Regions from separate parts of the Homo sapiens genome. Here all the other regions are linked to region 5. Evidence: promoter capture Hi-C in human tissues and cell types (Jung and others, 2019). All regions are on one chromosome and are shown on one strand. The core of a region is centred on a gene start or on the middle of the fragment in contact, and the rest is flanking DNA. Distances in the headings are between cores, read along the strand shown.

Region 1 (4,546 bases), core at 29-2,528, 500 kb before region 5:
GAGGGGGCACAGGGTAGGGCAGGGCTGAGCTGGGGGTCTGCTTGGAGGAGGGGGTGCAGGGCTGAACTAGGCTATGTGAGTCACATTTGCCACAGGACGGGAGGGCACCCTGGGCCAGCATGGACAGAGGCGGGCGGAACACAGTAGTCCTGAGCGGGAACAGCGTGGGCCCTGGCCAGCGGCCAGAGAGAGGATGACCAGCCAGGGAGGCCGAAGACGGCCGCTTTTGGGGCCAGGCCTGTGGGGAGGCGAGAGCCTTGGACTTTGAGCCCAGCCCACGCTGTTTGTCCCGGGTCCCTTATCTCTCGGGTTAGTTACTTTTCTCTCCCCCTCCCTCTATCCGAAAGTTGGATTTGCAAGAGTGGCCAGGCAAGACCTGGACTTGAGACTATCTGGGAGGGGAAGGACTGGTCCCCAGTGGGCCACACATGGGCCCCCCGCTCAATCCTGATTGGCACTGGACACTGGACGTGCCCATTTTCAGGGTGGGAACACTGAGGCCCGACCCCTGGACGGGGCCTGTGTGGGGCCAGGGAGTCCTTTCTTAGCAGCCCTTAGCGTCTGACGCCAGGCAGGCCAGGGCCACCCCGGGGACAGCTGTCTCCCTGAGCTCAGCTTTCCGAGTGCTATTCTTAGCCGGGCGAGTCGGGGCTGCTCTCCCAGGCAGGCAGAAGGGCAGCCTCTCCCTGGCACGACCCCTTCCTCCCGACCTCAGACAGGGAGCTGGGGACCCGGTTCCACCCAGTTTCACCCAGGTCTCACGTTTGAGGTCCCCATCTGGAGAGCGGGGGGCCTCACTCCCCCTGGAGAGGAAGTTTCTGGTACTTAGGCGGTGCCTAACGTGTGCGGGCCCCACGCCTGCCGCACTCCCCGTGAACGCCTCCGTGTGCCCCCACCTGCAGCCCCACTTCCCAGGCGAGGAGACAGAGGCGCCCCGGCGGGAGGGTGGGCTGCAGAGTCCCCGGGTCGGGGCAGCCCCGGCCTCAGTTTCCCCTGCGCCCCCGGGGGCGGTGCAGGCCGGGCGGGGGCTACCTTTGGAGGAGGCGGCGGCGGCCAGCGCGTGCATATAGGGGGTCTCCCAGCGCTCCATCACCGGCTTGCCCAGGATGCGCAGGTGCGTGTCCGCTGCGTCGTAGGCCGCGGGCGCCGCCCCCCACGCGGGGCTGCAGTTCTCGCCGGGCGCGAAGATGGGGGTCGCGCTGGGGGCGCTCATGCTGCAGGCTGGACGGCGACCCGACCTCGATCGCGCGCCGCCCGGGCCCGCTCCCTGCAGGGGCTTGTGGGCCGGGGGCGGGTCCAACAGGCCCGGGGGGCGGACCCGCGAGAGGACGCGCGCGCGCGGCTCCGGGAGCGGCCTCTAGCGGCGGCCACGCGAGAGGTGGCGGGAGTGGGGTCGGGGCCCCGGCCGCCCCCTCCCCAAGGAGCCTCGGTGCCCCCTCTGCGGAGCGGGCACCGCAGCCCCGCGCCCGGGGACGCGAACCTGCAGGCTGGGGACTGGAATCCCCGCCTTGCCGCTTACGCGCCATAGATTCCTCATCTGTCAGCACCGCAGAAAGGCCCCCTCCTCGCTGGGGTGTGAGAATCTGAGGATCTTCCAGGCGCTGTTGGAAGTGCTTTAAGTGTTTAAAATCATTTAATCTTCAGAAGATGCTACAGTGAGTTCTGTCTTTTTTTAATAGAGACGGGGTCTTGCTATGTTGCCCAGGTTGGTCTCAAACTCCTGGGCGCAAGCGATCCTCCCGCTTCAGCCTCCCAAAGTGTTGGGATTACAGGCGTGAGCCACCGCGCCCGCCAGGTTCTATGATGACTGTCGTTTTTCCTTCCTTCCTTCCTTCCTTTCTTTTTTGAAAGCAAGTTTATTAAGGAATAAAAATGAATGGCTACTCCATAGAGCAGCCGACTGTCATTTTACAGATGTGGAAACTGAGGCTTTGAGAAGCAAAGCCGGTGGTCTGGTGGCCACGAGGGTGGGGACCCAGCATTAGAGCTCTGATGCCCCCCTTTCATGAGCCCATGTCACACCCCCATAGGCTGGGGGTCATCTGAGACCCCGGGTCCCTAATGGGGGATTCCGCCCAAAGACGCCTCCAGTTCTGGAGACCAGGACTCAATCCCAGCAGTGCCCTTTCCTCCGGCGGCCCTGCAGCTGGGGTGTGCGGGGGTGGAATTAGGCCTCCCCCAGCCCAGGGTAGCCCCTTAGGGTCAAGCACACCCCCCGCCTGTTTCCTGGGGGCCCCCAAGCCCGCTGCGGTGGCGTCCTGGCTCTGATAGCCGGTTTCCTTCCCCCTCTGAACGTGGGGCCACAGTCATGAGCCCTGAGCACTGCCTGCCTGCCTGCCTGCCTGCCTGCCGTGCGTTCTGCACGGGTTAACAGATGCAGTTATTATGCCCATTTAACACGAGGGAAACTGAGGCCCAGAGAGGTTGAGGTTCACAGGTTGCAGCAGGGCCACGGTGTGAACGCAGGCAGCCTCGGAAACAGCTCCCGCGCGCGGCCTTCCCTGCGCCACCTTGTCTGGGTAGCTGCCTGCCCCATCACTGCCTGCTCAACGCCTCCACATGCCCCTGCCACCTCTTGCACAGCTCCTTAGCCCCGGGCCTTGGCACACGCTCTTCCCCTTGCCCAGACAGCCTCTCTCCTGGTCAGGCCGCTTTCTCGTTCTGTCTCAAGCTGAGCCCACGTGTCCTCTAGGAGACACCCCCATTCTGCCCCAGGACAGGCATGTCCTGGTCAGAAGCTGTTTTGTTTGTTTTTGTTTTTCTGAGACAGAGTCTCACTCTGTTGCTCAGGTTGGAGTGCAGTGGCATGATTTTGGCTCAGTGCAACCTCTGCCTCCCGGGTTCAAGCGATTCTCCTACCTCAGCCTCCTGGGTAGCTGTGATGACAGGCGCCCGCCACCAAGCCCGGCTAATTTTTTTTTTTTTTTTTTTTTTTTGTATTTTTAGTAGAAACGGGGTTTCACCATGTTAGCCAGGATGGTCTTGATCTCCTGACCTCGTGATTCACCCGCCTCGGCCTCCTAAAGTGCTGGGATTGCAAGGTGTGAGCCACCGCACCCACCCGGCCAGAAGCTGTTTTCTCTCTCTTTGGTAGTTCACTAACGGAAGGTATTTCTTCATGGTCCTAGCGTCCCTCTCACAGGGCTGTCAGTGATCCTGGCACACAGAACATGCTTGATAGGCTGGGTGCAGCAGCTCCCACCTGTGATCCCAGTGCCTGGGGGAGGTGCAGGGGCTCAGGCCTGTGATCCCACCACTTTGGGATGCCGAGGTAGAAGGATTGCTTCAGTGCAAGAGTTAAGACCAGCTTAGACCACACACAGAGACCTTGTCTCTACAAAAAAAAAAAAGTTTTAAAAATTAGCCAGGGCCGGGCGCGGTGGCTCACGCGTGTAATCCCAGCACTTTGGGAGGCTGAGGTGGGCGGATCCCCTGAGACCAGCCTGGCAACACGGTGAAACCCCATGTCTACAAAAATACAAAAATAGCTGGGCGTGGTGGTGGGTGCCTGTAATCCCAGCTACTCAGGAGGCTGAGGCAGGAGAATCGCTTGAACCCGGGAGGCGGAGGTTGCAGAGAACATCACTCTCAGTGAAATAAGCCAGTCGCAACAGGACAAATCCTATGTGAGTCCACTCCTAGGAGGTCCCTGGAGTCCTCCGATCCACAGAGACAGAACGTAGGATGGCGGGGGGGGGGGGTGCCAGGGGCTGGGGAGGGGACAGGGAGTGAGTATTTCACGGGGCAGAGTTTCAGTTTGGGAAGATGAGAAGGTTCTGGAGAGGACGGCGGTGATGGTTGCACAACAATGGGAATGCGCTTAATGCCAATGAGCTGTGCACCTACAAATAATTAAAATGGGGCCGGGCGTGGCGGCTCACGCCTGTCATCCCAGCACTTTGGGAGGCCAAGGCGGGCAGATCACCTGAGGTCAGGAGTTCGAGACCAGCCTCAACATGGAGAAACCCCGTCTCTACTAAAAATACAAAATTAGCCGGGCGTGGTGGTGCGTGCCTGTAGTCCCGGCTATTCGGGAGGCTGAGGCAGAATTACTTGAACCTGGGAGGCGGAGGTTGTGGTGAGCCGAGATCGAGCCATTGCACTCCAGCCTGGGCAACAAGAGAGAAACTCCATCTCAAAATAAATAAATAAAATAAAAACAAAAATAATTAAAATGGAAAATTTTATGTCACATATATTTTACCACAAGAAAAAAAGGGGACCAAAACTACATACCGTGTGTTGGATCTGTTTATAGTCACACTGGGAGTAAATTCAGATCAGTATCTGCACAGCCTTTTTCTCGCTGCCTTTGCCCTGGAGTGGAAGGAAGGAAATGAATGGGGAAGAGGGAGAAGCGGAGAAGTAGCCTCTTCTAGTTCTTTCTTCCTTCCTTTTTTTTCTTTTTCTTTTCTTTTCTTTTTTTTGAGGTGGGGTCTCGCACTGTAGCCCAGGCTGGAGTGCAGTGGCGCGATCTCGGCTCACTGCAACCTGCACCTCTCATGATCAAGCGATTCTCCTGCCCCAGCCTCCTGAGTAGCTGGGA
Region 2 (3,973 bases), core at 1,474-3,973, 340 kb after region 5:
CAGAGCCTGGGCGGAGATTGTCTAATGGTTGCCAGAGCTGCAGGGCCTCCCCCGGGGTCCCGCTCTCGTTCAGTGGGTGGCATTAGCCTGCCCCAGGTTCCTCAGCTTCGGAGAGGACAAGCAGCCGGGACCTGAGAGCTTTCTGTGTTGCAGTGACCAAGCAGAGAGACTCGGAGATGGGCCAGCAGAGCCTCCTCTTCCAGGTGAGATCAGGGACTTGGGCGTGGGGGGCGGCCAAAGGCACCCAAGAGGCGGCTCTGCCACCCGGCCGTGTCCCTGCAGATTGACTACCCTGAGATCGCCGAGGGCATCATGCCACGTCACCGCTTCATGTCTGCGTACGAGCAGAGGATCGAGCCTCCGGACCGGCGCTGGCAGTACCTGCTCATGGCCGCCGAGCCCTACGAGACCATTGCCTTCAAGGTAGCGTGGCTGCGGGGTTCCCTGGGCCCCCTTGAGATGTGCAAGCCAGAAGGATCTGCATAGGCTGGGCAGGATGCCCCTCCCATCGGGCTTGGGGTCCCCTGGGCCCCCCCCAAGTCGGAGCCAGAAGGGTCTGCACAGGCCGGGCAGGGCACCTCTCCCATTGGGCTCTGCAGGAGGGCCTGCTTGGGCTCCACTGGGCCAATGAGAAGGGAGGCCGGCAGGGCTGAGCGCCAGGCCTGTGAGGCCTTTGCCAAGTGACCTCACTTCCTGGGCCAGGCTGCTGGAGGGCTTCCTACAGCCTGTCCCCATGCCTGGACAGGGCGGCCATCAGGAAACAAATAATACAAACGGTGACTGCCCAGGGAGGGGGCCAACAGCGTGCTAGCATTGAGGCCAGGTCTGTTTCACTCCAGAACTGAACCCTGTGCCCCACGAAAGTCTTACCAGCCTTCTCCTGGGCTCCCAGGGTAGAGTCCGGGCTGGGGAGGCTAGTGCCTCGGGCTCCCTGCCTGATGGTCGCCCTGAGGTCACAGGGACCAGGAGCCCTCTCTGTCCCCCGCCCTCCCAGGTGCCGAGCAGAGAGATCGACAAGGCGGAGGGCAAGTTCTGGACACACTGGAACCGGGAGACCAAGCAGGTGAGTGGCTCGCCCCGAGCCTGGCTCCTTCCCACCCAGCCCTGGCGGCCCTAGCCCTGCCCTAGCCCCACCCGTGCCTGCTGAACCTTTCTCCGTCTCTCTAGTTCTTCCTCCAGTTCCACTTTAAGATGGAGAAGCCCCCGGCTCCACCCAGCCTCCCTGCTGGCCCCCCTGGGGTGAAGCGGCCTCCACCCCCGCTGATGAACGGTCTGCCCCCTCGGCCACCGCTGCCTGAGTCTTTGCCACCGCCCCCGCCAGGAGGCCTGCCTCTGCCACCCATGCCCCCCACAGGGCCTGCGCCCTCAGGGCCCCCGGGACCACCCCAGCTACCCCCGCCAGCTCCAGGGGTCCACCCCCCGGCCCCAGTGGTGCATCCCCCTGCATCTGGGGTCCATCCCCCAGCTCCTGGCGTCCACCCCCCAGCTCCTGGCGTCCATCCCCCAGCCCCTGGGGTCCACCCACCAACCTCTGGGGTCCACCCCCCAGCTCCTGGAGTCCACCCTCCAGCCCCCGGGGTTCACCCACCAGCCCCCGGAGTCCACCCACCAGCCCCTGGGGTTCACCCACCAGCCCCAGGGGTCCATCCTCCCCCATCAGCGGGGGTTCACCCCCAGGCCCCGGGGGTGCACCCAGCAGCCCCCGCCGTTCACCCTCAGGCCCCAGGGGTGCACCCACCAGCCCCAGGGATGCACCCTCAGGCCCCGGGGGTCCACCCCCAACCTCCCGGGGTCCATCCGTCGGCTCCTGGGGTCCACCCTCAGCCTCCGGGAGTTCACCCCTCAAATCCTGGGGTGCACCCCCCAACTCCCATGCCCCCAATGCTGAGGCCCCCACTTCCCTCCGAAGGCCCAGGGAACATACCTCCCCCTCCCCCAACCAACTGAGAAGCTGCTCCCTCCCCCAGCAAGCCCAGCGCCAGGTGCTCTTGCCTTTTCCCACTGAGAGAAGGCTGCTCTTTTGTACTGCCCCCCGCTCATTAAACAGCCTCCCCCAGCCCTGAGTGCACTGATGTCCGCAGCGCCGCCCTACTGTGTCAGTGTGTGTGGGAGTGCCAGGCACAGCACCATCCCCCAGTTTGGGCCGACTGGGGAGGGCCTGGGGCCCGCCAGGAGACACCTGTGGGAGGCCTGAGAGATGGCTGTACCTTGGAGATGGCCTGGTGGAGGACAGACCCCACCAGCCAGCTAGGAGGGGATCTGGGGTCCTGTTCTGGGGAGGGAAGAGCAGACTCCACGATATCCTTGGGGTCTCCAGATAGCCCACCAGGGGTGGGGAGGGTGAGCAGGGACAGGGCGCCCCCACTGACTTGGGACCCTCCTCCTCCAGGCCCACACCTCAGCACCCAGGACATCTGGGCCCCCCGCCCCCAGCGCTGTCTAGTTTGGTTGCCTGGCCGTCACTCCCAGCCTGGTTCCCACTCCTGTGTCTTCTGGGGATGGCCCTCAAGGACGGCATGTTGACACATCAGGCCCAGCTCTATCACTGGGGAGGGAGATAGGCTGCCAGGGACAGAAAGGGCTCTTTGAGAAGGCCACTCTGCCTGGAGTGGGGGCGCCGGGCACTGTCCCCCAAGGTCGCGGCAGAGGAGATAGGGGTCTGTCCTGCACAAACACCCCACCTTCCACTCGGCTCACTTAAGGCAGGCAGCCCAGCCCCTGGCAGCACCCACGATGCGGGACCTGCCTCTCACCAGCCTGGCCCTAGTGCTGTCTGCCCTGGGGGCTCTGCTGGGGACTGAGGCCCTCAGAGCAGAGGAGCCAGCTGTGGGCACCAGTGGCCTCATCTTCCGAGAAGACTTGGACTGGCCTCCAGGCAGCCCACAAGAGCCTCTGTGCCTGGTGGCACTGGGCGGGGACAGCAATGGCAGCAGCTCCCCCCTGCGGGTGGTGGGGGCTCTAAGCGCCTATGAGCAGGCCTTCCTGGGGGCCGTGCAGAGGGCCCGCTGGGGCCCCCGAGACCTGGCCACCTTCGGGGTCTGCAACACCGGTGACAGGCAGGCTGCCTTGCCCTCTCTACGGCGGCTGGGGGCCTGGCTGCGGGACCCTGGGGGGCAGCGCCTGGTGGTCCTACACCTGGAGGAAGGTATGTGGGGCCCAGCCCCAAGCTTGGCACCGCCGTCTTCCTTCAGGTGGGCCGGGTCCTCCTAGGGAAGATCAGGGGCTGGCAGAGCCCCCACCCTGGGCAGGGAGGCTGTGGTCTTGTTCCTAGGACTGGGTTGCGGGTCCGTGGCCTGGAAGGTGGGCACCACACTCTGTCCTGTCCCCGAAGCCCAGCTCTTAGACTTGCCCCTGCCTCGGTGCCAGGGAGAGAGCTGCTGCCTTCTCCCCACCCCTGAAGACGACGCAGGGCTCGGGGCCAGTGGAACCCTTCTTCCCACAGCCCCAGCCTGTTCTCAGGGCCGCTGGCCTAAGATACTCCCTGCGGGGAAGGGGCTTCATCGGGCACCCCAACCCAGAGACCCCAGGGCGGCAGCCCCACCCACAGCCTCAGACGCAGCCCCTGCCTGCCCCTGCCGTCACCGCTCCCTGGCTGCAGGAAGGCAGCTAAGAGGGGCACCCTTGTCCCCCGCTTGAGGTCCCCTGCACAGTGGCCAGAGCGGCAGGGACAGATCCCAAAGATTCCCGGGGGGTGTGGCCTTCAATGGCTCAGGCGTCCCCTGCTGTCCCGGCTGCAGTGACCTGGGAGCCAACACCCTCGCTGAGGTTCCAGGAGCCCCCGCCTGGAGGAGCTGGCCCCCCAGAGCTGGCGCTGCTGGTGCTGTACCCTGGGCCTGGCCCTGAGGTCACTGTGACGAGGGCTGGGCTGCCGGGTGCCCAGGTACCAGGGAGTTGCATGGGGCAGTGCCCGGGCCGTGGCGGGGGGCATGGATTTGTTGCAGGGTCTGCAGTACTGAGAACAGCGTAGAACCAG
Region 3 (3,932 bases), core at 1,433-3,932, 470 kb before region 5:
GTCTTGGCCTGTGCCTACCCTTCCAGTGCCTAGGAAAGGTCTGAAACGCGACGGAGGCGCCCTCGCCCTCCCCTTGGCTCTTGGTGGTCTCAGCAACCCCGAGGGCTTCAGGGCAGAGGCTGAGTGGCGAGCTGGGCCCATCCCTCAGTGGGTCTTGGGATGCTGTGACTTTGAGGATGTGGCCACCACCAGTTTTCTCGGGGAATGTGGGCTCCAGGCTTTTCCCATCTCAAGACCTTTAATCATATCTTTTGCCATGGAAGGTGACATATCCCCAGGTTCTGGGGATTAGGACAGGGGCATCTTTGGAAAGGGATACTCTGTCACTGTGGCAGGGAAGGCGAGACTTAAAAAGGGCCGGGCGCGGTGGCTCACGACTGTAATCCCAGCACTTTGGGAGGCCGAGGCGGGCGGATCACCTGAGGTCGGGAGTTCGAGACCAGCCTGACCAACATGGAGAAACCCCGTCTCTACTAAAAATACAAAAATTAACCGGGTGTGGTGGTGCATGCCTGTAATCCCAGCTACTTGGGAGGCTGAGGCAGAAGAATCGCTTGAACCTGGGAGGCGGAGCTTGCAGTGAGCCGAGATTGCGCCATTGCACTCCAGCCTGGGCAACAAGAGCGAAACTCCGTCTCAAAAAACAAAACAAGAAAAAAAAAGGACCATGAAGTCCCAAACTGGAAGCCTACAGCGTGCCAGGCGTGAGACTGTTCAGGCGACAGCCAGAACCACCCCCCCCCGCCCCAGTTCATATTTTGGGGACAGGGAAGGTTTGACTTAGTTTGGAGAGAACCAAGAGAAGGGGTACCCCCAACATCCCTGTGCAGTGCAGTTTCCTCACTGAGACAGTACCCCTCAACGCCTCAGCCCAGGAAGCCAGCTCCATTCCCTGCCGTCAGAGCCTTCTCCCATGTCCTCAGGAGCTGCTGCCCCAGCTCCCAGGAGGGCCAGGCGGGGGCGGCTGTCTATCCACACCACAGGTCATCATGGTGTTGAGTGTCAGCCCCTCCCGTTACATTAGCTCCCCCAGCCAAAGAGCAGCACTCACAAAATCAGCTTTCCAGCCAGGACACTCTGCTGCAGGAAAATGGGTAACATGGACGGGCCCGACACATAGGTCCTGTGCTCCTCGGGACGGAGACTCAGCCCTCCCTGAGTACAGTGTAATTGGCTTCCCTTGGGACTGTGGGGACGGCTGGGGAGAGCTCAGCTCCCTGGACAGTGCCACAGCTAAGCTCGGGTTCCCAGAGGTTTTGTGCTTTTTTTTTTTCTTTTTCTTTTTTTTTTTTTTTTTTTTTTTTGAGAAGGAGTCTCTGTCGCCCAGGCTGGAGTGCAGTGGTGCGATCTCAGCTCACTGCAACCTCCGCCTCCCGGGTTCAAGCGGTTCTCCTGCCTCAGCCTCCCAAGGAGCTGGGATTACAGGCACCCACCACCACGCCTGGCTAATTTTTTGTATTTTTAGTAGAGTTAGGGTTGGTCAGCTTGGTCTTGAACTCTTGACCTCAGGTGATCCGCCCGCCTCGGCCTCCCAAAGTGCTGGAATTACAAGCATAAGCCACCACGCCCAGCCAGGTGCCACATCCATAGTTAATAGTCACCTTCAACTTTATACTTAATTCCAGTAAGATACAGAAACATCACTCCTAGGCCAGGCGCGGTGGCTCACGCCTGTAATCCCAGCACTTTGGGAGGCCAAAGCGGGTGGATCACCTGAGGTCAGGAGTTCGAGACCAACATGGCCTGGCCAACATGGAGAAACCGTGTCTTTACTAAAAATACAAAATTAGCCGGGCACGGTAACAGGTGCCTGTAATCCCAGCTACTTGGGAGGCTGAGGCAGGAGAATCGCTTGAACCCAGGAGGCAGAGGTTGCAGTGAGCCGAGATCACACCACTGCACTCCAGCCAGGGCAACAAGAGTGAAACTCTGTCTCAAAAAAAAAAAAAAGTCACTCCTACATAGTTCTAGTTACTCCTTCTCTTTGAGCTATCATTATTCACATTACATTTACATATCTTAACAAACCCAGTGATATTCCTAACTTTATTTTTGAGGCAGGGTCTTGCTCTGTCGCCCAGGCTGGAGTGCCGTTGGCGCGATCACGGCTCACTGCAGCCTTGACCTCCTGGGCTGAAGGCTCAGCCTCCCGAGTAGCTGGGAATTTTTTGTACTTTTTATTCTTTTATGTCCGTGTGTACACAAATTTTTGTATTTTTTTGTAGAGAGGCAGTCTCACTGTGTTGTCCTTACTAACTTTATATACAAAATTTTATCTGTTAAAGCCGGAATGGTTCTTTTCAGCGAGGCCCTGTCCCTGCTCCAGTATCTGTAATGAATTCTCGTGTTCCTCCCACAGTGGGACCTGAACCGCCAAACCGCACCTACGAGCAAACGGTAGGCGCTCCATAAATACTTGTTGATGTGGGTGCCATCGTGTAGATGACGGAGCACGAACCCGAGGCTCAGACAGGGGCGGCGACTTGTCCAAAGTCCCACTCCGTGGAGGAAGCGGCTCTGCAGACCTCAGGCGGCGGCTGCTCTAATCCCTGCAGCCTGTGTTTTGCCCTCCAGACGGCAGAGGGCGCGTGTTCGCCGCCGGGAAAGCGGAAGCGCGTGTGCGCGCACGGCCGAGGGGGCGGGACATGCCGGCAGTCTCGCGATAACTGCGCAGGCGCGGACCAAAGCGATCTCTTCTGAGGATCCGGCAAGATGGTGAGTGTTGCGATTTGGCGCGTCTCTGCCGGGCCTATCCGGCTCCATCCAACCTCTGACCGTCTCGCGGGGGCCGCAGTTCGTCCCCGCGGCTACGGCGGCTTGCTCCCGACCCTGCAGGCGGCTGGATGTTGGGGCGAGGGGCGGACTTGGTGGGTGTCGGGACGACGCGGGGCTGGGAAGGCCTGTCCGGGCCTTCATGTCCGGGTCCTCGTAACCCGGAGCCGCGAGTGATCCCCGGGGACGGGTCGAAGCGGTGTGTCCCTGTCGGGCTTCTGTCCCCGGCGGCGCCGCGCGTCTTCCGCGGTGTCCTCGGGCCCGGTGGCCCCGGGAGATGGGTGTCGGGATCCCGCTGACGCCCGATCCGCGCCCGCACAGGCAGAAGTAGAGCAGAAGAAGAAGCGGACCTTCCGCAAGTTCACCTACCGCGGCGTGGACCTCGACCAGCTGCTGGACATGTCCTAGTAAGGGCGGCCGCGGGGGTCGCGGGCAGGGGCTGGGCCAGCGGTGGGGCTTGTCCGGGTGAGGGCGGCGGGGCGGGGGTCCAAGCGCCTCTGCGGCGGTGGGCGGGCACGGTCTCCGCGCGGGTTTGGAACTGAGTGTGGTCTTGCGCCCAGAAAACTGTCCAGAGACGTTGAGGTTTTTGCTTATTTGCAACCTGCCCCCCGTTGTTCACTTTTCCGCGGCTTAGTTGGAAGGTGTAGCCCCTGTCTGTAGCCCACGTGACTTAGAATAAGGGGCTGCGTTAGACTCCTTAGATTTTAAGGGCGGTGGAGGTCGCTGGGTCCTTTCCAGGCAGGGTGGTGGTGGGCATCTGGCTTGCGCTTTTATTTTTTAATTTTTGATTATTTTGAGGCGGAGTCTCATCCTGTCGCCCAGGCTGGAGTGCAATGGCTCCGTCCCAGCTCACTGCAGCCTCCCACTCCCGGGTTCAAGCGATTCTCTTGCCTCAGCCTCTCGAGTAGCTGGGATTAGAGGGCCCCCCCACCACGTCCGGCTAATTTTTGTATTTTTAGTAGAGACGAGTTTCAGTGTTGCCCAGGCTGGTCTCAAACTCCTGACCTCAGGTGATCCACCTGCCTCGGCCTCCCAAAGTGCTGGGATTACAGGCGTGAACACCGCGCCCGACCTTGATTTTTGATTATTTGTGGAAACAGCGTTTCTCTGTGTCGTCCAGGTTGGTCTTGAACTCCTGGGCTCAAGCGACCCTCCCGCCT
Region 4 (3,958 bases), core at 1,201-3,700, 300 kb before region 5:
CCACCCCTATGCCGTCCCGCTGCCCACGTGGGCTCAGGCGCAGCTGAAGCTTTCACGCTCCTTGTTAAAAATCATAAAAACCAAAATAGTGGCAAAGGCCGAAGATGCCGCGAGTGCTGGGCTGGGGATCGGGACTCGGCACCTTCTGGGCGCTTCCGTCCAGGGGGTCACCATTCGGATCCCCCGGTAGAGATGGGGAAACTGAGGCTTGGAGCGGCCTAGCCGCGGAGCCGGGCATGCTGGGGTTTGGCCTTGGGTCCGTCACGTCCCGTTCACGCCGGGACGCGCCGCTCCGCCTCTCGGCCTCAGTTTCCCCCTCTGTCACCGGGAACAACAAGGGACCTGGGCCCGGCCCGGCCCGGCCCCCGGAAACGCGCACAAATACGGAACGCAGCGGCGCGGGGCTGGGCCGAGGCGGGAGCGCGGATGGGGCCGCGGGTCGGCGTCCTCACCAGTTCTTGACCAGCTCCCGGTAGCGTGGGCCCAGGAACCGGGTCACCATCGCGGCGGAGTCGCACCCTCAGGATGACCCTGTCCAGCTGACCCGGCTACACTGCGCAGGCGCGGCCGCGGCGCGCACGCGCGCGGGGAGGGCGGGGGGGGGGGGAGGAAAAAAAAACATCATCCGCCACTGTGCGCGCAGACCCGGAAGCCACTTACAGTAACTTCCGGCGAGGGTTGGACGACCGCGGAGAAGTGGTCCGGAGTGGGCGGCGTTAGGGCGGTGCTTTCTGGCCACGTGGTCTGGCGGCCGATTGTGCTTCTGGGCTCCGCGGGGCTACCTGCCAGTGATTTTGTGCGCCTAGTATGTGCCAGAACGTTATTTACAATGAAGGAAACTGAGGTCCAGCGGGGAAGGGTCTTGCTCAGAGTCACACAGAGGGGAAGAGCTGGGATTGGAGCCCACTTTTGGAGGCGTCAGGCGTTGTTCCTGATTCGCTGTAGGACTTTGGTCGAGCGGCAGTGCTTCCCTGAGCCTCAGCGTTGCCCGTTGCTTGGAGGCCCTGTCGGAAATCTCTTTGCAGGATTCCGTTTGCGAGCCTGGGTTATTCCTCATTCCGGCAGCAGAGGGTGGCCTGGCTCCTTGCTCGGTGAACGTCTCTGGATGCTCTTAGCTGATGACAGGCAGGTCTTTCTGCCTCCTGCTTTCCACCGCACCAGGCTCGCTTGGGCTCGCCTTTCTCCAGTCCCTGCTTCCTCTGCTCTCCCACAACCCGGCGCAGCACCGTACATGCTCACTCAGCTCCCAGCTTCCAGCCTCCCCCCTGCACACCGGGCCGGTGTGGGCAGAAGGAAGAGGGGCATATTCCCAGACACCGCCATTGCACTTTTGTGCCTTTTCCCCCATATTCAAGAGTTGCCTCCCTCAGGAAGCCCTCCTGGACTGCCTGACCCACAGGCACCTTTACAGCATGAACGGAAAGGCCATAGCCTAGACGGGGCACTGGGCGTGATTTGTCTCTCGGGCGCCAGCGTCACTTGCAGGCCTCGTGATAAGGAATGGACACCGTGGGTTCTTCTGCCCAGCCTGGCCTGTCCTCCTGGGGTCAGCCCCTCAGTACACCCCAAGCCTGCAGCTCTCTGGGGACTGCGGGTGCTAACCCATCCCTATCCCTGGTTAAGGACTCAGGGTGGGAGCCGGAAATAGGTTTTGGACACCACAGTCTGGGCACTGTTTTTCTTTCTTTTTTTTTTTGAGACGGAGTCTCGCTCTGTGGCCCAGGCTGGAGTGCAATGACACGATCTCGGCTCACTGCAACCTCCGCTTCCCGGGTTCAAGCTTCTCCTGCCTCAGCCTCCCAAGTAGCTGGGACTACAGGCGTGAGCCACCACACCTGGCTAGTTTTTGTATTTTTAGTAGAGATGGGGTTTGGCCATGTTGGCCAGGCTTGTCTTGAATTCCTGACCTCAAGTGATCCGCCTCCCAAAATGCTGGGATTACAGGTGTAAGCCACCGGGCCCGGCCCTGGGCATTGTTTGTAGAACTTTCCAGTTGGCTTGGGGTTTTTGAGCTTGGGATCAGAGAGCACCTGAATAAGACTCTTCCCATTGGTGGAAACTTAAAAAAGTGGGATGCAGGGGCTGACACAGAGACTATTAAGAGAAAGGACAGGAACACAAGGGCTGCTGGAATGTCAGCCCAGAGTTTCCAGATGCCACAATGTAAGAGTTCACCAGTGGCCGGGCACGGTGGCTCACGCCTATAATCCCAGCACTTTGGGAGGTTGAGGCGGGCAGATCACCTGAGACTGGGAGTTCGAGACCAGCGTGACCAACATGGAGAAACCCCATCTCTACTAAAAATACAAAATTAACCGGACATGGTGACGGATGCCTGTAATTCCAGCTACTCGGGAGGCTGAGGCAGGAAAATTGCTTGAAAACCCGGGAGGCAGAGGTTGCGGTGAGCCGAGATCACGCCATTGCACTGCAGCCTGGGCAACAAGAGTGAAACTCCGTCTCAAAACAAACAGACAAAAAAAAGAGTTCATCAGAGACAGTGACATAAACAAGAGCTGAGAGATGGAGAGAGATTTGTAATGACACCTGGATCCAGCTGTGCCTGAAGCCATTCAACATGACATAGAACTTCCTTTTTGTTTCTTGAGCCGGTTTTTGTTATTTTGTTGGACCATCTGGATGTCCCCTCCACCCTTTTTTTTTGAAACGGAGTCTTGCTGTCGCCCAGGCTGCAGGCTGGAGTGTAGTGGTATGATCTTGGCTCACTGCAAGCTCCGCCTCCCAGGTTCACGCCATTCTCCTGCCTCAGCCTACCGAGTAGCTGGGACTACAGGTGCCCGCCACCACGCCTGGCTAATTTTTTGTATTTTTAGTAGAGATGGGGTTTCACCGTTAGCCAGGATGGTCTCGATCTCCTGACCTCGTGATCCGCCCGCCTTGGCCTCCCAAAGTGCTGGGATTACAGGCATGAGCCACTGCACCTGGCCCACCCTTTTTTTTTGACAGGTTCTGGCTCTGTTGCCCAGGCTGGAGTGCAGTGGTGCAATCACAGTTCACTGCCACCTCAAGCGATCCTCCCACCTGAACCTCCTAAGTAGCTGGGACTACAAGTGTGTGTCACCAGGTACAACCAATTTAATTTTGATTTTTTGAGACAGTCTCGCTCTGTCGCCCAGGCTAGAGTGCAGTGGTGCAATCTCAGCTCACTGCAATCCCTGCCTCCTGGGTTCAAGCTATTCTCCTGCCTCAGCCTCCCAAATAGCTGGGATTACAGGCTTGCGCCACCATGCCCGGCTAATTTTTGTATTTTTAGTAGAGATGGGATTTCGCCATGTTGGCCAGGCCGGTCTCGAACTCCTGACCTCAAGTGATCCACCCGCCACAGCCTCCCAAAGTGCTGGGATGACAGGCGTTAGCCACCGCGCCCGGCCAATGTATATTTTAAAAGTTGTTTTCCAGCATGAATTTAGAGGCCAGCTGGGTAGAGTGGTGGACAGGGCTCCCTCAGCACCTTCTGTCAACTCCTGGCCACTCTCTTTCCCTTAAAAATTATAGACATGGGGTCTCACTATGTTGCCCAGGCTGGACTGGAACTCCTGGCCTCAGGCGATCCTCCCGCCTCAGCCACCTGAAGTGCTGGGATTACAGATATGAGTCACTGTGCTGAGCCTTCTCCTCCCTAAGGCACTTGTGTGCCAAAGGGCTCTCTCCTGGGGGCCACCCCCCGTCAAGTGGCCAGGAAGGCACTCCTTCCACCCCAACCCTGTAGGGGAGCAGGGCAGTCCAGCTGTGTCCTCGCAGAGATGCAGCGGCCAAGTCCCTGGGCACAGCAGCAGATGCCTGCCAGTGGGCACTTTGGGATGAGCAGCGCCCCCACAGGTCCTGCCACACCCCTTCCCCCCGAGAGCTCTGTCCGTGGGTTCCGTGGGCATCCGGTTGTGGAGGAAGTCACAGATGCCGCACTAAGGAGTGTGGGGTTGACGCTGCCAGCAACGGA
Region 5 (4,325 bases), core at 476-2,975:
TCCTGCCTCAGCCTTCCCAGCAGCTGGGATTAAAGGCCCCTGCCACCATGCCTGGCTAATTTTTGTATTTTTAGTGGAGATGGGGTTTCGCCATGTTGGCCAGGCTGGTCTCGAACCCCTGACCTCAGGTGATCCACCCACCTTGGCCTCTCAAAGTGCTGGGAGTACAGGCATGAGCCACCGCATCCGACCTTGAAATGCACTTTCTTTGAAACACGTCCTCCCCTTTCTCACCATAAACTCCCTCACACTCTGCAGGTTTACCTAACTGTATGCATCTAATTATGTGATTACCTAAAAGTTCCAGGAACAGGCTGGGCACGGTGGCTCACGCCTGTAATCTCAGCACTTTGGGAGGCCGAGGCGGGCAGATCACCTGAAGTCAGGAGTTTGAGACCAGCCTGACCAACATGGAGAAACCCCATCTCTATTAAAAATACAAAATTAGCCAGGTGTGGTGGCGTGTGCCTGTAATCCCAGCTACTCGGGAGGCTGAGGCAGGAGAATCACTTGAATCTGGGAGGTGGAGGTTGCGGTGAGCTGAGATCGTGCTGCTGCACTCCAGCCTCGGTGACAAGAGCGAGACTGTCTCGAAAAAAAAGAAAAAAGAAAGAACGTTTTAGAGCTAATCTGGAGACAGGCCAAGCACGGAGACCCACCTGCAAAATCCCAGAGATTTCCTCAAGGTGGTCTGCAACCCGGCCCTTATTAGGATGAGGCCAGCCTGCGCTTTTAAGCCACCAAAATTCATGAACACACAGAGCTTATAATCAGCACCTCCCCTGCACACCCACCATTCCCAGTTCCCCTTTTTTAGCCCCTCACCCCAGCCTCAAGTTTGAAGGGGTTTCTGGAGGCCTAAACCAGCTGCCTCCCTGCTGCGAACTCTGAAAGGAAGTCACCTTCCTTTCACTGCACTTTTTCCTCCTTACTGGTTTGTCAAGACTCTGGCATCGGAGCCTGAGCTGGTTACAGCCAGGCACTGTCAAGCTGTTGGGGGAGGGGATGACAAATTCCCTCCCGTTGAGAACCACTTGGTTAAACCTGTCCAACTGGAAGGAGTAACAAATTGCTCATAAAATATGCATGTTTTGGTGAAACCCCTTCTCTACTAAAAGTACAAAAACTAGCCAGAAATCGCTTGAACCCAGGAGGTGGAGGTTGCAGTGAGCCTAGCACTGCACTCCAGCCTGGGTGACAGACTGAGGCTACGTCTCAAAAAAAAAAAAAAAAATGTGCTTGTTTGGCCCAGGAGAGGCAAGAGGTCTTCTTCACCTACGTTACTGGTGAGAAAACTCAAACCTGAGGGCGGCCCACGCCGGAGTGCAGTAACAGGCAGAACTGGAACCTGGCCCCATCCCGGACTCAGGGGACGGGTGTCATATACCCCCTCTGCCTCATCCTTCCCACTCTGCTAACCTTCCAAAGATCCCCCGGGTTCCGAGTTTTCCCTGGCCGCTTGATGGGATTCGAACCTGCAAACTCAGCGCTCGCCCAGCGCAGCGGCCCCGCCTCTCCTCCCCTCCCGCCGCCCGGAGGTCATGTGAGCGCAGTGCCGGAGCGGGGCGGGGCGAGGCGGCGGCGCGCAGTGCCTACTAGCAATTGTAGTCCTTGCCCCACCTTGGCCTGGCGAAGATCCCGCCCCTGGAACTACGCTCCCGTCGTGCTCCGCGGCTCCAGGCGGAGACGAGGCGGGGTGAGGTGGGTTGGGCCGGGCCGGTTGCTAAGACTTGGCGAAGCGCTGCGCTCGCGCCCGGATCCCTCAGGTAAGCGCGCGGCCCCGAGGTCTCGGGTTCTCCAGGCTCAGACTTCCCCAGAGGGGGAGTAGGGGCTGACATGGGGGGTCTCGGCGGTGAGGGGCGCCGGCCGTTTGTGGGGAGAAAACGGGGGGCCCAGGCCAGCCTCGCGCGCGTCTCGGGCGGGCCGGTGGGCGACGCGGGGAGGCGGCGCGAATGCGCGTGCGCGCGCGCGCGCGGCGCTGGCCTGGGGGAAGCCTCAGGACCGCGCTCCCCCGGGCCTAGCGCCTTTCTGCGCGTGTGCGCCCTTATGGTCGGTGCGGGAGACCCCGTATCCTCCAGCTGCTTCCGGTGGCCCTTCCTCAGGTCATGTCCCGCAGTCCCCTGCCTCTGAACCGCGCTCTCGCGAGTTTCCGTAGCCTTCGCGTCCTTCCTCCCCAGCTCTGATTCGCCTTTATGTGGAGATTCCCCTAGGCCTTGGTACATCCCCAGAATTGACCATCGTTCCTCATCGTTACCTAGAGTATGAGTTTTTCAGGTTTTTGTATCACAGGCCCCCAGTTATCTCCCACACACTACCCCGAGGACCGAGGTTCCCCGCTGTCTTGCAGAGAAGGCCTCCTTGTAGGGTGGCCAGAAACAGAGGATCGACTCCGTGGAAACAAGGACGGCTGGGTGCAGTTCCTCACCCTATAACCCCAGCACTTTGGGAGGCCAAGGCGAGTGGATCACCTGAGGTCCGGAGTTCGAGACCAGCCTGTCTAACATGGTGAAACTCCATCTCTGCCAAAAATACAAAAATTAGCTGGGCGTGGTGTCACGCGCCTGTAAAACCAGCTACTGGGGAGGCCAAGGCAGGAGAATCGCTTGGACTTGGGAGGTGGAGGTTGCAGTGAGCCAAGATGGCACCATTGTACTCCAGGCTGAGCAAGCTAGCAAGACTCACTCTCCAAAAAAAAGAAAAAAAGATTTTTTTTTAATAAGCCAGGCATGGTGACACATGTCTGTGGTCCCAGCTACTTGGGAGGCTGAGGCAGGAGGATTGCTTGAGCCCCGGAGGTTGAGGCTGCAGTGAACTGTGATGGCACTACTGCATTCCAGCCTGGGCAACAGAGCGAGACCCTGTCTCTAAATAAATAAATAAAATACATACGTGTAGCGCCGGCCGTGGTGGCTCACGCCTGTAATCCTAGCACTTTGGGAGGCCAAGGCGGGTGGATCACGAGATCAGGAGATCAAGACCATCCTGGCTAACACGGTGAAACCCTGTCTCTACTAAAAATAAAAAAAAGCCAGGCATGGTGGTGGACGCCTGTGGTCCCGGCTACTCCCAAAGGAGGCTGAGGCAGGAAAATGGTGTGAACTCAGGAGGCAGAGCTTGCAGTGAGCCAGGATCGTGCCACTGCACTCCAGCCTGGGCGACAGAGTGAGACTCCGTCTCAAAAAAAAAAAAAAATTGTGTGTGTGTGTGTGTGTGTGTAAAGAAACAAGCCCCAGGCTGGGCGCAGTGGCTCACGCCTGTAATCCCAGCACTTTGGGGGGCCTAGGCAGGTATATCACAAGGTCAGGAGTTCGAGAGCAGCCTGACCAATATGGTGAAATCCCACCTCTACTAAAAATATAAAAAATTAGCCAGGCATAGTGGTGCACATCTGTTGTCCCAGCTGCTTGGGAGGCTAAGGCAGGAGAATTGCTTGAACCAGGGAGGCAGAGGTTGCAGTGAGCCAGGATCGCGCCACTGCCCTCCAGCCTGGGGGACAGAGTGAGACTGTCCCAAAAAAAAAAAAGCCCCCACGCAGACTATTGGTGTGCCCTGGAACTGAGCATTAGCTGTTCCCTCTCCGAGTTCTCTCCCCTACTTCCCCAGCCTTCCAGGCTGGGCTGTGGGTCACTGCCTCCGAGGAGCCCTCCTGGATTCTGCTGAAGATGGTCAGGCCCCTCCATCCCCCCATTTTCTCTTATGTACCTGACAGCCCTGCCTTAAAAAAAAAAAAAAGGTAGAGCAGGAATTCCCATTTCACAGGGGTGGAAGCCGAGGCTTGGAGGAGTCAGGACTGGTGCCTGAGTTCTCGCAGTCAGGAATTGACCGCGCTGGGCTGAACGCCTCTAGGGCAGGTTGGGGACTGGGTGTGTTTTCTGGGTGGACATACCCAGGTCCCGGCGCGGACCTTGGCCTCCTCATCTGTGGGCTTAGATAAAGGCCTCCCAGCCTCCTGTTCACCAGGGTTGTCACCACGCAGGGTCTGACTCACCTGCCTGGAGCTATGCCGGTTCCCAGCCCAGGCTGGCGGCCGTGTTCTGCTGGGACCTGGGACCTGGGCTGCCTGCCCTCCTGAGGGGTCCCAGTGGTCGGTCGCCTGCCTTCTGGGTGGGTGTGGTAGAGGGAGGGTCAGGTGGCCCCCTGCTGTTGGGGGGCAGTCGCTGTGGGAGTGAGTCGTCCCCCCGGGCCATAGCAGGTAGGTAGGAGGTGCTCTGGCAGTTGAGGCCGCCCTGGCCTGGGACAGTCAATCAGCCTGAACACTGTGCCTGTTCCGGGATTTTGACCTGCCCTCCAAGGGCGCGGCGGGCCCAGCCTGCAGTGTCCCGGCA
Region 6 (4,020 bases), core at 550-3,049, 310 kb after region 5:
TGACAGGCATCTGTGATTGTGGGAGTGGCTGTGAATGCCGTTATCCGTGCCCACGGGTCACGTCCTGGCCTGCGGGGCCCCAAGCAGCCCACTGCTGTCTCTGGGCCTCAGTTTCCTGATTTGTGCCACAGAGGACTTGCAGTGGACAGAGTTGGGCCCGTGGCCCCCTTGAGTCTGAGCTCCGCGTGCCTCTCGGTGCAGGAGGGCCGTGGGCAGCGCTGGGGCTTCCTGTGGCTCAACCTGCTCTCCTTCCAGGAGGAACAGGAGGCAGCCCGGCGCCGCCAGCAGCGCGAGAGCAAGAGCAACGCGGCCACGCCCACTAAGGGCCCAGAGGGCAAGGTGGCCGGCCCCGCCGACGCCCCCATGGTAAGGCCCCAGCCTGGCTCCTGCTGCTGGAGGGCACCCGCCCCCTGCCCGGGAGACCCCATGGGTGGGAGGCTCTGTGCCCATCCCTGTTCTTCCCTTGTGTCCTCCAGGACTCTGGTGCTGAGGAAGAGAAGGCGGGAGCAGCCACCGTGAAGAAGCCGTCTCCCTCCAAAGCCCGCAAGAAGAAGCTAAACAAGAAGGGGAGGAAGATGGCTGGCCGCAAGCGCGGGCGCCCCAAGAAGATGAACACTGCGAACCCCGAGCGGAAGCCCAAGAAGAACCAAACTGCACTGGATGCCCTGCACGCTCAGACCGTGTCTCAGACGGCGGCCTCCTCACCCCAGGGTGAGCCGCCCCCACGCCACGGCCCCCGCTCTCCCCGAGTGCGGATGCCTGGGGTCCCCTCTGCTGGGACGCTGCCCTCCTGAGCCCCGTGTGTTCAGGGTGTCCCTGGAGCCTCCCTGTTGTGGCTGTGCCTTCAGGGTGGCCCCATCCTAAGGGGTTGCTGGGCACCTGCCCCATGCTGACGCCTCTGCCCACCGCTCTCCCGACCCGCCCTGTGCTGACGCCTGCCCTCCGCTCTCCCAGATGCCTACAGATCCCCTCACAGCCCGTTCTACCAGCTACCTCCGAGCGTGCAGCGGCACTCCCCCAACCCGCTGCTGGTGGCGCCCACCCCGCCCGCGCTGCAGAAGCTTCTAGGTGAGCCCGTGTGAGGCGTCCGGCGAAGGGTTCTGGGCTTGGGGTCATCCCAGGAGGACCGTGGGTTGTGACGCTGACCTCGCAGCAGCCCCCGTGACCTCCATGCTGGACCCCACTGAAGTTTACCCAGGGTTGGGGTCTGCCTGCTGCAGGGGTCAGTAGAGGCTCAGATGCAGCCTGTGGGTTGTCTGAGGTCTTACCCAGGAGATGCTGGGTGACACTTGGGACGTCTGCAGTTGTCATAACTTAGGGATGTTGCTGGCATGGGGTGGGTGCAGGCCAGGGATGCTGCTCAGGGCCTTGCAGTGCCCAGGATGGCCCCACGCGGTGAACACTTGGCTGCGCAGGGGTCAGAGGGCCTGAGTGCTCTGCGAGCTTGGGGCGTGTGGCATGGGCCCCGCCAGGCTCTGCTGAGCTCCTGCCTCATGAGTGCCTGACACCTGCCGAGGCCTGGGACTCGTTCTCAAGGGCTGCTCCCACCTCTTCCCTCTCAGTCTCAGCTGCTCTCTTCTCACCTGTGTTCCGCCTCTCTTCCCAGAGTCCTTCAAGATCCAGTACCTGCAGTTCCTGGCATACACAAAGACCCCCCAGTACAAGGCCAGCCTGCAGGAGCTGCTGGGCCAGGAGAAGGTGGGTCCTGGCCCCCTTGGCATTCCGCCTTCCCGCACAGAGGCAGTTCGTTCCTGTTCCTGGGCATCTGTCCCCTGTGGCAGAGGCCCTGGAGCGCAGGCCTGAGTGGGCTCCCTCCTCTGCTCACCTGCTGCGAGAAACAAACCTACCCGTTTAAACCCAAAGAATGGACTGAGAGACCCGGAAAACAGCGAAAATGAGACTTTTAATCATGGTTTTGCAAGACCTGGTGTCTGATAGGCACACCCAGCACAGTTTGAACAAGCAACCTTCCCCCTAGTGCACAGGTCCCTCCCCCGGTTCCTCAAAGGCTGAGTACTGTGAGGTCACAGTCTTCCCAGTTGTCGCCTATTGGTTCGGCAGGGGCTGGAGTGCAGTGGTGTGATCTCGGCTCACTGCAAACTCCGCCTCCCGGGTTCACGCCATTCTCCTGCCTCAGCCTCCCAAGTAGCTGGGACTACAGGCACCCACCACCACATCCGGCTAATTTTTTGTATTTTTAGTAGAGACGGGGTCTCACTGTGTTGGCCAGGATGGTCTTGATCTCCTAATCTCGTGATCCTCCCGCCTCGGACTCCCAAAGTGCTGGGATTACAGGCATGAGCCACCACGCCCGGTTGTAGGTGTTTTCTTTAGGGTTGTCCTGCTGCATTTTGTGCATTGCAATCCCAGTCAGCTCAGGGACTGTTCAAGTATTTGACTTATGATCTAAGTAGCTGGGCAGGCTGATTAAGAACAGACAAAGCCAGCTCTTTTGCAGGCTGGTAAACCTTCATCTTAGGCTAAACTTCTTTGGTTCGGGTGAGGGCAACTAAGCCGGGGGAAGCGGGGGCAGGGGAGGCTGACAAGCAGGCATCAGCGATCCAAGCAGGGGCCTAGTACATGCTGTCTCTTCTGTAGTTTGCTGACCTAAGCCAATTCAAGGCAGTTTGTCCTGGAAATGGACCACTGTATACATGATTTCCTTCACCTGAGGTCCCGGCTGTGGGGCCCCGCCCTGGGAGTCTCCGAGGACCTGCTTTAGTGGGGAGCTAGGGCCGGGCTATGGGGTGGAAGTTCTGGCGGCCCAGAGATAACTCCAAAAGCCATTGGAGCCACAAGGTCGGCTGTCCCTGAGCCCTGGTTTGCATTTTGGACTTTGGCTTTGCTTTTAAAAAAAAGCTTACAGCGTGCTTTGAGCATATATGCACATGCATTGCTCACTGTGTAGCTGACAGCATGCCTGGGCCGGGGCCCTGTTCTCTGCTGGTGTCTGAAGGTTGTCCTGTGTCAGTGGCTCCTGGGGTCTTCCCTTGGAGGTGGGCCTCCGGACACTGAGTGTTTGCTGTTACGCTGCAGAAGGCTTCCTTGCAGATCCATGTGAAAAGTCCATCCCCTGGTATTGCCTTGGGATAAACTCCTTGGCATTGGCCGGCCTCTGCGTGGCTGGGGGCGCTGCCCTGGCTGAGTCCAGGTGGGGTGGCAGGTGCAGTCCCTCCAGCTGGCGAGAGTTCTTTGCAGTGAACCTGATGCAGAGCTGGTCCCCTCCCGCCGTGGCCTGAGTATTTCTTGACATCTCAGCCCGGTGTGGGTCCCCTCAGGCATGTCTGTCCTTGAGCGTGTCTTCAGGAAGCATGAGAGGCAGGGCGTGGGCCCTCCCTGTGGGCCCTCAGTCACCTGCCCTGGCCCTTAGTCACCTGCCCTGTTTGTCCTACAGGAGAAGAACGCCCAGCTCCTGGGTGCGGCTCAGCAGCTCCTCAGCCACTGCCAGGCCCAGAAGGAGGAGATCAGGAGGCTGTTTCAGCAAAAATTGGATGAGGTAGTGGACCCCAGAGGGCAGGTGGCAGGTGGCAGCTGGGGCGCAGGCTGGGGTGGTCCATGTCCGTCGGTATGGCTTCCTGTGGCTTCCTGTCTATGCCTCTGTCCAGCTGTGTCCCAGGGGCTGGGCTGCAGGGGTGGTCATGCCTGGGGGCTTACTTCACCTTGGAGGCCACCAGCATGACCTCTCCCCCGCCCCATGTCCCCAGCTGGGTGTGAAGGCGCTGACCTACAACGACCTGATTCAAGCGCAGAAGGAGATCTCCGCCCATAACCAGCAGCTGCGGGAGCAGTCGGAGCAGCTGGAGCAGGACAACCGCGCGCTCCGCGGCCAGAGCTTGCAGCTGGTGGGTGCCGCGGCGCAAGGACAGGGACGTGGAACCAGAGGGGCCCTGCCTGGGCGGGTGTGTCCTCTGTGCGGGTGGGAGGCTCTGGAAGGCCCGCCTCTGTTGTGGGGTTTGTTCCCAGACGAATTGCGCCACCTGTGAAAGCTTGTCGAGCGCGTCACAGCAGGCAGGCCTGGGC

The links. Contacts are between HindIII fragments. The study calls those that stand out against the background at their distance.
Region 1: the fragment with the promoter of GAMT here is called in contact with the fragment with the promoter of ADAT3 in region 5 in 1 of the 25 tissues and cell types used here (spleen).
Region 2: a contact is called between the fragment with the promoter of AMH here and the fragment with the promoter of ADAT3 in region 5, in 2 of the 25 tissues and cell types used here (dorsolateral prefrontal cortex and spleen).
Region 3: the fragment with the promoter of RPS15 here is called in contact with the fragment with the promoter of ADAT3 in region 5 in 1 of the 25 tissues and cell types used here (dorsolateral prefrontal cortex).
Region 4: a fragment that was not itself captured here is called in contact with the fragment with the promoter of ADAT3 in region 5 in 1 of the 25 tissues and cell types used here (dorsolateral prefrontal cortex).
Region 6: a contact is called between a fragment that was not itself captured here and the fragment with the promoter of ADAT3 in region 5, in 1 of the 25 tissues and cell types used here (dorsolateral prefrontal cortex).

Annotation. Positions count from the first base shown.
Region 1 is chr19:1,400,264-1,404,809 of GRCh38, forward strand. It overlaps GAMT (guanidinoacetate N-methyltransferase), which reads right to left and starts at 1,279. Exons shown (of 6, transcript NM_000156.6): 1 at 1,033-1,279. The coding sequence starts at 1,213. RefSeq lists a silencer at 1,017-1,596. The HindIII fragment of the contact is 15,848 bases long and covers 1-3,451 here.
Region 2 is chr19:2,246,600-2,250,572 of GRCh38, forward strand. AMH (anti-Mullerian hormone) reads left to right here and starts at 2,724. Exons shown (of 5, transcript NM_000479.5): 1 at 2,724-3,145; 2 at 3,738-3,880. The coding sequence starts at 2,734. SF3A2 (splicing factor 3a subunit 2) reads left to right here. Exons shown (of 9, transcript NM_007165.5): 6 at 154-203; 7 at 283-423; 8 at 995-1,063; 9 at 1,168-2,056. The coding sequence ends at 1,947. RefSeq lists promoters at 1-2,733, 668-2,702, 2,454-2,733, 2,524-2,733, 2,702-2,733 and enhancers at 1-812, 111-612, 2,667-2,806. The HindIII fragment of the contact is 11,600 bases long and covers 1-3,973 here.
Region 3 is chr19:1,435,714-1,439,645 of GRCh38, forward strand. It overlaps RPS15 (ribosomal protein S15), which reads left to right and starts at 2,683. Exons shown (of 4, transcript NM_001018.5): 1 at 2,683-2,715; 2 at 3,094-3,179. The coding sequence starts at 2,713. RefSeq lists enhancers at 2,428-3,298, 2,707-2,926. The HindIII fragment of the contact is 20,902 bases long and covers 1-3,932 here.
Region 4 is chr19:1,604,908-1,608,865 of GRCh38, forward strand. UQCR11 (ubiquinol-cytochrome c reductase, complex III subunit XI) reads right to left here and starts at 555. Exons shown (of 3, transcript NM_006830.4): 1 at 453-555. The coding sequence starts at 502. RefSeq lists silencers at 306-375, 426-685 and enhancers at 746-1,055, 1,511-2,132, 3,615-3,664, 3,695-3,764. The HindIII fragment of the contact is 3,073 bases long and covers 915-3,958 here.
Region 5 is chr19:1,903,674-1,907,998 of GRCh38, forward strand. It overlaps ADAT3 (adenosine deaminase tRNA specific 3), which reads left to right and starts at 1,726. Exons shown (of 2, transcript NM_138422.4): 1 at 1,726-1,766. It overlaps SCAMP4 (secretory carrier membrane protein 4), which reads left to right and starts at 1,726. Exons shown (of 7, transcript NM_079834.4): 1 at 1,726-1,766. RefSeq lists enhancers at 720-779, 1,060-1,119, 2,140-2,229, 4,305-4,325 and silencers at 1,450-1,779, 1,830-1,979. The HindIII fragment of the contact is 31,876 bases long and covers 1-4,325 here.
Region 6 is chr19:2,210,145-2,214,164 of GRCh38, forward strand. It overlaps DOT1L (DOT1 like histone lysine methyltransferase), which reads left to right. Exons shown (of 28, transcript NM_032482.3): 13 at 256-366; 14 at 477-711; 15 at 955-1,068; 16 at 1,607-1,698; 17 at 3,395-3,496; 18 at 3,705-3,842. It overlaps DOT1L-AS1 (DOT1L antisense RNA 1), which reads right to left. Exons shown (of 2, transcript XR_007067087.1): 2 at 1,884-4,020. Among named protein-coding and RNA genes, the nearest start is that of DOT1L-AS1, 3.4 kb to the right of the region's middle. The HindIII fragment of the contact is 3,245 bases long and covers 178-3,422 here.